Linked DNA regions of Homo sapiens: region 1 is linked to region 2. Evidence: promoter capture Hi-C in human tissues and cell types (Jung and others, 2019). All regions are on one chromosome and are shown on one strand. The core of a region is centred on a gene start or on the middle of the fragment in contact, and the rest is flanking DNA. Distances in the headings are between cores, read along the strand shown.

What was found. Contacts are between HindIII fragments. The study calls those that stand out against the background at their distance.
Region 1: a fragment that was not itself captured here is called in contact with the fragment with the promoter of SIN3A in region 2 in 1 of the 25 tissues and cell types used here (spleen).

What each region holds. Positions count from the first base shown.
Region 1 is chr15:74,767,722-74,772,725 of GRCh38, reverse strand. No RefSeq gene overlaps it. Among named protein-coding and RNA genes, the nearest start is that of CSK, 12 kb to the left of the region's middle. RefSeq lists enhancers at 21-734, 735-1,450, 4,615-5,004. The HindIII fragment of the contact is 3,893 bases long and covers 1,501-5,004 here.
Region 2 is chr15:75,449,993-75,454,905 of GRCh38, reverse strand. SIN3A (SIN3 transcription regulator family member A) reads left to right here and starts at 3,216. Exons shown (of 21, transcript NM_001145358.2): 1 at 3,216-3,483. RefSeq lists silencers at 92-531, 3,252-3,351, 3,572-4,071 and enhancers at 622-721, 1,801-2,332, 2,562-2,611, 4,322-4,451, 3,879-4,798 and 3 more. The HindIII fragment of the contact is 10,283 bases long and covers 1-4,913 here.

The DNA.
Region 1 (5,004 bases), core at 2,198-4,697, 680 kb after region 2:
GTATTTTCAGTAGAGATGGGGTTTCACCATGTTGGCCGGGCTGGTCTTGAGAAATCCTGACCTCAAGTGATCCACCTGCCTCGCCCTCCCAAAGTGCTGGGATTACGGTGTGAGCCACCGAACCCAGGGCCGATCCTTTTTTTTTTTTTCTGAGACAGGGTCTTGCTCTGTCACCCAGGCTGGAGTACAGTGGTGCGATATCAGCTCACTGCAACCTCTGCCTCCTGGGCTCAAGCAATCCTCCTACCTCATCCTCCCGAGTAGCTGGGACTACAGGTGCATGCCACCACGCCCAGCTAATTTTTGTATTTTTAGTAGAGACGGGGTTTCACCATGTTGGCCGGGATCGTCTCGATCTCTTGACCTCATGATCTGTCTGTGTTGGCCTCCCAAAGTGTTGGGATTACAGGAGTGAGCCACCGCGCCCAGCCTGGGGCCAGTTCTTATCCCCTAAAGATTCCCACCCTCACCCCGCAGCCAGGTTGCCTCCTGCAGCCTGCAGCCCTCAGCGACTCCAAGTCCTCTGCAGCTGGTGGTGTAGCCAGCTCTCAATGCCTGTCTCCACCAAGTGACCAGCCAGCAGTGTGTTTGGCAGCTCACTGAGGAGGCCCACCAGGTGGGCTGCTGGGAGCCAGCCCCTTGCGTGGGGCCTGGCGCGGGTGCTGACACCCACCTCCACCCCCCGCTTTGCTGAATGAGTGAGGATAGATGTTGGGGAGACAGGACCAAAGCTTGGGATGAGTCAGGCCGGCTAGGGCCAGGATGTGTGACTGGGGCCCAGGGAGATGATGTTTGCTGGCAGTGCCCTGTTCCAGCCGCACTGGAGCCCTTACTTTCCCTGGGTGACTGCCCTATTCCCAGCTTGGTTCTCTGTCTTTGTGAGCGGGGCATTTATTTTCTGCTAATGTTAGCTGGAGGTCAGTCTCTGTTGTTTGTGACTTAGAAGCCTGACTGGTGCCCCCTGACCCCACCCCCATCATGGCGGGTGGGAAGATGAGGTCAGGTCTTGCGTTTGAAGTGCCAGATTCACAGCAATTAGACAAAGGCCATTGTCTTCCCTTGCACTCTGGGTGATTACTCGCCTCCTGCCTCTTTCAGAATCTAGAATTCAGGCCTGGCTTGGTGGCTCACGCCTGTAATCCCAGCACTTTGGGAGGCCGAGGTGGGCGGATCACTTGAGCTCAGGAGTTTAAGACCAGCCTGGCCAACGTGGTGAAACCCTGTCTCTACTAAAAATACAAAAAATTAGCCAGGCGTGATAGTGCACGCCTGTAGTCCCAGCTACTCAGAGACTGAGGCAGGAAAATCGCTTGAACCCAGGAGGTGGAGGTTGCAGTGAGCGGAGATTATGCCACTGCACTCCAGCCTGGGCGACAGAGCGAGACTCCATCTCAAAAAAAAAGAGAAAATCTAGAATCCAGTCTGGTCTCTGGTGGCGCTGGGCTGTTGGTCTACTCGGGTCTGAGGGGGAACAGCGCCTCCTGGTGGCCACAACACAGAGCTCAAGGGGAAGGAATGAGAGAGCGACAGAGAGGCAGGCAAGGTCACACTGCCCTGTCGGGCAGGCTCAGAGGCACGCCTGGAGAGCAGGCGCATGTCTGCTCTGGGAAAGATGAGCCGTTTGGCTCCTGGGAGGACCATGTCCCAGGCTTACCTAGGGCTGGAGCCAGAGCTGACTGTTCCCGATTGCGAGCATCACAGGGCAGGTCCTGGGTGGATGAGGGCAGGGAGCTGGAAGGGGCCCCATTTGGCTGTGGAATAACTTTTCTAGAGGAGGTGCTGGGGGGTGGGTGAGCCAGATCAGCATATGGCTGCTGGGACCCCACAGGGCCCCCTACCGTGGGCTGCTCCCTGATTTGAAGGCCACCACCACGCTGGCCCCTGGGGATCCTGGATTGGCCTCAGTGTTGCTGACATCCTCAGATTTTCCTGAGTAATAAGAGCAAAGTGAGGACAGGTAGGAAGGCACACTTTGTTGAACACCTACTGTGTGCTGGGTGTTTGCACATTTGCTCTCATTTGATCATCTTCCTTCAAGGAAAACAGTAGCATCTAGATCTTAACTGTAGGGCAAGGGAGACCCACAGAGGGTGATTTACAGAACCACCCCAGAGCCTGAACTCTTTTTCCTGCCCCATGAGGAGGTCACCAGATGGCAGCTGCAGAGACCCCAGGCCCCAGGTCCTAGGTTTGCTCGGCAGTGAAGGGCTGCAAGTTGGGGGAGATGTTTGCCTTCTGCCTGCCAGCCCTCCATGTAGACCTTCAGAAGCTTCTGGTGCAGGGACCATCTCCTGCTGGACATGGTTGGGGTAGGAGGGTCTGGTTGCAACAGTCCTGGACCTTGAGGTGGGAGGCAGAGATAGGGCACAGGTGGAGGCAGGGCCAGGAAGGAGGAGCATGACATAGCAGGCTGGGGTCAAACTCCTGACTTCACAGTCTGCCCTGAGCCTTCTCCGCAGCTTTTGGCTTGGTCCAGGCCCTTTGAGGGGAATGCCAAGTTGGAGTGTCATGTGTTGCCCCAGTCACTTCTGCATGGGCTCCAAGAGCCACCAGCAAGCTTGAGGCCAGATCCAACTCCGCAAATGACTAGAGGTGTCATCCTGGGCAAGTGACCTCCTGCGCCTCTGTCCCCATCTGCCCAGTGGGCATTAGCACATCGCTATCACAGCGAGCTTTAAGGACTAAGTGGGACAAAGTGCCAGGAGGGACCTGGCATGGAGCAGGTGCTCGGGGAACTTCGGCTGATTCTCAAGTGAAAGCAGAAGCAAGGGGGCAGCTGGACTGCAGCCATCTCCAAGATCCTGGAATTTAATCCCTTTGAATATAAGATCCCTGAGAAGAGGCAGGTGGAGGTGTAGGTCCGTGAAGAACTGGCCGCTCTCATCCCTGTGCCTTTGGCACACCTGCAACCCTCGTTTTCTCACCTGTTGCTCCAGCTAAGTGAGCAATGTGAGAGTCCCAGGAGGTTACAAATGGATCTGCACCATCAGTGTTCCCAGTGCCCCAGCACAGAAAATATAATGAATCAGCCTTGAGGGTAGTGAGCTCTCTGTTCTTAAAAGTATGAGAACAGAAGTTGAACTCCTGGCAGGGAGTTAGATGAGGAATTGGTGTTTTTTTTGTTTTGTTTTGTTTTTTTGAGATGGAGTCTTGCTCTGTCACCCTGCCTGGAGTGTAGTGGCGTGATCTTGGCTCACTGCAACCTCTGCCTCCTGGGTTCAAGCGATTCTCCTGCCTCAGCCTACTGAGTAGCTGGGATTAAAGGTGCCTGCCACCATACCTGGCTATTTTTTTTTTTTTTTTTTGTAGTTTTAGTAGAGACGGGGTTTTACCCTGTTGGCCAGGCTGGCCTCGAACTCCTGACCTCATGTGATCAGCTCGCCTCAGCCTCCCAAAGTGCTGGGATTATAGGTGTGAGCCAGCACGCCTGGCCTGCACGAGGAATTTCTACTCCAGGTGGGTCTATGAGGACCAGGCTGGGGAATGAGAGGAAGTGGGGGGCTGTCCTCTGGCCACTCTTAGTGGCTTCTCTAGAATTTCTGCATAGGACTGACTTGAGACTTGTCTTGAAGTTGTATTTGCAAAACAAAGTCGCTTATTCCTTAGGTTGCCTTTTTATTTGGGGTGGGGTCCCCAAGACAGTGGGTAAAGGCTAGCAGCTATGAGAAACATGTGTTTCTCTAACTGCCCACGAGGGGGCAGCCTACACTGCATTTTCGGCTCCAGTTCTTGGCTGGGGAGAGTGACGCGGGCAGATCCTGACATGAGGACAGGGCTGGGGGCTGATGGATTGGGAAGAATTGGGCATCAGATGGGTGTGGGGCGGGGGCTATTCTTCTCCCCATAGATCACAAGCCCGACTTTTTTGGGGTTAGGAGGAACAGGCAAGGTGGGAAGCTTTCCTTTCAACAGTGAATCCTGCCACTGGAAAAATTTAGTAGAATTTGAAGACCACGGTTGTAGCAAGCGTCCAGGAAGCGTTTCAGCTCGACATTTCGGGACAGATTCCTGCCTCTCCGGGGCAAGGAGCACGTGACAGCATGGCTGCTGGGAGGAAGGGAGCCCCGCACATTGTGCACATGTACCCTAAAACTTAAAGTATAAATAAATAAATAAATAAATAAATAAATAAATAAATAAAAGAAAAGCCCCCAGAGGGCGGCCCTGAGCTCACATAGGACAGTTAAGCAGGGGACTTGAGGCACGGTGGTGAGCTGGAGCTCCTCTGTCATCCCCTGGGTGGGAGGAACCTGGTGCTGGCTTGTGTGTAGTGCGTATCTACCCACTTCAGCCTCCCAAAGTGCTGGGATTACAGGCTCATTGCAGAGCTCCTGGCCTTTTCCCCGGGCAGCCACTCGCAGCAGGCCCAGTGACATCCTGGGTGGATGAGGGCAGGGAACCGAGAGCGGCTGGAGGGGAAGGAGATGGGATAGGACCATTTCTGGAAAGAATGGGTGGATTGGTCACTCAGAGAACAGCAGAACCCAGCCCTTCCAGGAACCATCCCCAGAAGCCCCTTCTGGCTCTGGATGGGCTTTTCTAGATGGGGTGCTACAGGGGTGAGCCCGATGTATATGTGGCTGCCAGGACTCCCCACAGTCCCCTGAGTCTGAGCCCCTGTGCATCCGCAGCTTATGCATGTAGCATTATCAGCGCAGGATGCTCACACTGGTTTAGCACAGTGCGCCTGTAGGCACCGGGAAGTTCTGACTCTCCCTTGGAGTGGGGCCTGGAGCCCCTCTCTGGGTGAGGGGATGGCCTCACCTCTCTCTGGGTGAGAAGGCAGCCCCTTCTCAAACTCATCGGGTGCATCCCTGGGGACACAGGGCAGAAAGACCCATGACCCCCTTTGGGCTCCAAGTTGGGGGTGCAGGGCAGAGGCCAGAGAGCTCAGCCAGAGCCTAGCAGACCCCAGGCGGGCAAGGAGGAAATTATACCGAGTCCCACCCACTGCCTGTTTGCCCAGCTGCAGGGGAGCCTGGCAGGAGCCAGGATAGGATTCTG
Region 2 (4,913 bases), core at 1,967-4,466:
CGCATCGGTGGTGCGGAAAACCCCCAGAAACTCGGCGGCTTCGTCCGCGGCCCCGGCTGATCCCCTTGCAAACATGGAGCTGCCTGCTTCCCCGCCCACCCCAAGGCGGCGGCGGCGACTGCTGCTCTCTTCCCCTCCCCCGACCGTGCCGCCGCCGGGCTCCCCCTTCCCGCGAGGTGCTGCTGCGGACCGCTCGGCGCGGATGGGGCGGGGGCGGGGGCGCGGGCGTGTGCGCGCCCACGAGGGGGTGGCCTGAAAGGGGCAGTGAAGGTCGGAAACTGGGAAAACAGTCTCCACGCTCGGAATCGGGAAAAGGAAATGCATCAGCGGGCGGGGAGGGGCGCGGGGGGCGCGCCTGTCAGCCGGGATGGCGGCCGCGGGCGGGTAGGCGGGGCGCCGGCGGGAACCGTCCCGGCCGGGCGGGGCGACGCCGGGAGAGGCGGCGCAGGGGCCCAGTCCACCGAGCGCCGGGCGGCCCTTGCCTGCACTCCTCGGCCCAGACTGTTTACTATCTACTCCGCCGGCGGCTTGTGCAACCCGCCTGCAGGGGAGCTGAGGGGCGGACCCCTTTCCTCTCTCCCACCCACCTCCGGCTCTCCCGGAGGCCCCGCCTTCTCTTGTCTTCCACTGGCTAGGCGAGACTCCCTTTTTTTCTCCTTCTTGGATGTGGATTGGATGACATTCTCCCGAGCTCCGCCTATCGGGAGGCCGGGCTGGAGTTTAAGTTGCTAGGATTTTTTTTTCGCGGAGGGAGGAGGGACGGTTCTTGCGGATGACGTGAGGCGCAAGGTCCCGCCCCCGCCTCTGATTGGTGGGGCGGGTAGCCCGGCCTCCTCCGGCGGAGAGAGCTGGGAGGGGAAGTCCACCCTTGCTCCCCGCCTCCCTCCGCTCTTGAGCGCGCTCCGCACATGTGTGAGGCCCGCCTAGCTCCTTCGAACTGCCCTCCCGCCCGGAAGTCCTAGGCTCGGCGCCCTTGGCGAGGGGGGCGGGGAGAGCCGAGAAGCCACACAAAGGTTCCACCGAGGCTCGAGACCTAGTAGCCTTCGGGGTGAAGCCAGGGGATTACAGTGCGGAGTGGATTTCGGGAGCGAAACTCCGGAGGTTCTGCTGGGTTTGAGATCTGCCTTTCGGGGCCGGGGCCAAGTACTAAAGTTCTAACCCTGTCGCTTGGCTATTTCCGTGCCCCTTGACTTCCCTGAGCTTAAGCTCGAGAACTCTGCAGACGCTGCAAGTGTCTGTTCTTTCCTAGGCATGGCAGCGGCTGTCCTTAGTTGGCTGTATCTGAGACTCTGACAACCTAGTGCCCTGGCCTGGGGCCCTTAGGCGAGATCTTAGCGCAGGTGGTACCCTGTGTTCACGGGAAGTCGTGGGCGGCCTAATGCTGGCTTGGGTTCTGAGTAGTTCTTGATACCATGGTGGGAATGCCCTGTGGTACTCAGTCTAGTGGTGGAAGGCGGCGCAAAGTTAAAAGTAGCCGTGGGTCAGTTCTGCTGGAGTGCCGCTTCCTCCTAACCTCCGAGCAGTTTGGCCCTGGGGTCGCTTCGTTGGTCTGACTTATTTTTAGAGCTCTGTCCTGGGGCAGGGCTTGGCTACTGGCGAGGCTGCTCCCACCTGTCGGCTACCCTTGGAGTTCACAATTCGCTGCTGTGGTTTCGCGGCTCGAAGCCATCGCTGGAGTCAGGCCCACCTGCTGCCAGAGCTCGTTCCTGGCCGTTTCCGCTGGATTGCAGAGGGAGGACAGTGTTGGACCTAGGCGTGGGTTCCCTGGGCGTGTCCCTTGGGGTCTTAGCTCTCTGGGAGGAGGGTTCTACTTATTCGGGAGAGCGGTAACAACGTAATCCCGTCACCTCTCCTGGCGCTGAGAGAGCGCCCCCCAAAGTAAGATCAGCGTCAGGCCCACGCCCTATTTGGTGAATAAATAAAAGCAAACTAGGAATTGAAAGCACTTTGTCTCACTGTGTGTTCGAGGCACTGTTACCTACACAGAGAGGGCACAGGAACTGCTATTAACACTCCCGGCCAAGGAGAAGGTGAACAGCCGTTATCTTATGTCCCCAACTACGGAAATTTTATCCATTCTCTGAGTGTGGCATGTCCCCAATGTTAATTTATGCCGTGGCCTGTTTTGGTGTTTTCCTCTCCTTTCTCAGTTCTGAGGATGCCTCCAGATCCACCCGGGAGATCGTGAGTACCTTGTGCCTCACGCTCCGCCTTCCGGAGGCTTGCCAGGGCGGTGGCTGTTAGAGCCCGCCTCTCTTTTGGTTATCTCCGCCCTCTTAGGACTGCATATTCAGCTCTAGGGAGTTTACTTCTCCGCCTAGGTCTCCAGACCTTAGTTCTGTACTCTACTTGGCTGAAAGGAGTTGCCAGCTGCTCCGGATATTTGTGTTTACAAGGACGCAGTGTGTAGAATGTAAACTGTAAAGATAACTGGACGGAAGGATGAGTTCTCATTCTCTCATTTTTTTTGTGAGGGAGTCCTCCATGGTGGGCTGCCTTTCCTTCAAATCCTAGGATGTGGAGTCTCCGCTGATGAGCTCCGCTCCCCCTCCTATCTCGGGCCCTGGAACTCCGAGCTTCAGTCTCTAGTGTAAACATTCCACAAAAGGACTGCTAAGGTTCAGCCTCCTCGCGCAGGGTGGAATTAGCTCCTTCCTAGACGGGCGCCCTGGCCAATGGAGGGTCCTACCAGCGCCAAGATATCCAATCCGACTCTTGGGGCGGGGCCTGGCCCGGCAGTGCGGTAGGCGGAGCCTGTTTCACTTACAGACATTTTACCCCACATCGGTTACTTACCTTACTGGGGCGGTGGGAGAGCCAGGGGTAGCCTTCCAATGCGATGACCAGCGGAGGCGGGAGCCAACTTGTTAGGCCTGTGGCTGAGACGCTGCAGGGCGGGTTATGTGGTGTCCTCCAATGAGACAGGAAGAGCTTCCCTGCTTCCTCCAATAGTGTTGGGGCTCGGGGGTGGGCTTCAGCAGTCCGTCTCCAATAGGCGGGGTTGAGTTAGGGAAGCTCCCCGCCAATAGGGGCGTGGAGAAGGAGAGCGGCTCCCCCTCCCCTACCAGTCGAGGGGGAAGGGGCGGGAAAATCATAAGACAGGCCTCGGTGGTTGGCTGAGTCTTTGACGGGCGGGTATTGCGTCCTGTATTGGAACGAAGCTGAGTCTTCCCTCTGCGGGGCGGGGTCGGGGGAGTGGGCGGGATTTCCCGGGTAACAGAGAAGCGGCCGCGGCGGTAGAGGCGGCGGAGACGGTTTCTCCATCTTCCCCCCTCCCCTTCCCCCCTCGGAGTTTCCCTCCCTCCCTCCCTCCCTCCTTCCCAGTCTGGGCACCGGAGCCTGTGACCGCTTCGTTAGTGGAGAGGTAGCTGGCAGTCCGCTTCGGCGGGCCTGTGCCCCGCGCCGTTCTCGGGGCCTCCCTGCTGAGCTCGCGGCTCACGCTGAGAGGGACACGCAGTGACGAGCGGCCGAAGCAGCTTTGCGGTGAGAGCACGCTGGGCCGGGGGCCGGGCGGGAGCCTGGTGGCGGGTAACGCCGGACTCGAGGGTGTGTATTTTGGGGGGGGGGGGCTGACCTCCTCGGCTTCCCGTAGAGCAGACGGGCGGGAGGTGTGTGGTTGTGTGAGGGGGGTGGGGGGCGGAGCGGGGTAGCTCTCCGCGCGGGAGGGGGAGGAGAGCGTAGTCCCGGTGCGCGCGGAGGGGGGCGGGCTCTCGCGCCGCCGCTCAGAGGCGGGGCCGGCGCGCGCGTGCGATTGTGGAGAAAGGGGCGGGGCCGGCTTCGCGCTGAGTGCAGTTTGCGGCCGACCACCCCCTCCCCTCCTCCTGGGGTGGGCGGGGCCTCGGGCTGGCGGCCGCGCTCTGGCCTGCTGGGGTCGGGGAGGGGTAGGGGGGGGTCTCCCGCGTGTAGATTCAGGGCGCGGCAGGGAGGGGGCGTGAAGTCTGAGTTCCTCCGCCTTCTTGGGATCCGGTTGGCCGGAGGGGCCGTACTGATCCGTGATGCCACTCCCCTTGGCCGTCCCCCCCTGCACCCCGCCCAGGCCCCGGGTTTCCGCCTCCTTGGCAATGAGGAGGTGCTAGGGAAAGCCCGCTGTCGGGTCTGGCTGGGAGTCTCGGCGCCTAGATCTGCCCCGCCCTATGTCTCCGTGGGGAGGGAGGGGCACCCGCCGACTGGGAGCTGTGGAGGTGTCAGGACTTACTCTTGTGGCTGGGTCATGCCTTCTGCCTGGGGGCACAAGGGCCCTGTGCCGGAGCTGCTTTCTCCGCTTTGCTCCATGCAGCGTGTCTGGCACCGTGCAGCCAGGAGAGTGGGAGCATGGTCACCCCCACTCCCCTCTTGGTTGTAACTATTGGGGCGAAGTGCCCAAGGTCCTCTTGTAGGAGCGTGCGTGGCTGGTGCTGGAACCCTAGATCCGCGGTGGTGATGGTAGGGGAGGGGCAGGGAGTCATCAGAGACTAGAAATGTGGCGGAGGGAAAACCTTCCCTGGGGTTCCCTTGATGTTCAGTTACCGTGGCTGTACGGGGCGGGGCTTCCTTTGAGCCAATGGGTGGTGGGTAGTAGACTTGGCGTCTGTTTCGGTGCGTTAGGACTTTAAACGAAGTTAGCCTTGAAAAGGCAGTGGAAGCTCCTCCTCTTTACAAGGCTGAGATTTATAACAGGAAAGTTTGGATTTACATTTTAATCTCAAAACTGGTCTGTTTATAAAGTAGGGTTTGTTTTTTTTTTTTAAGAACTCAGACTTTGAATAAAATACTCCGATATCTCTGACAGTTGTATTTTTGAATGCTTTCATTGTGCACATGGTTCTGCTATATAAACTTAGTTTCCTGGACGGGCGCGGTGGCTCATGCCTGTAATCCTAGCACTTTGGGAGGCCGAGGCAGGTGGATCACTTGAGGTCAGGAGTTCGAGACCA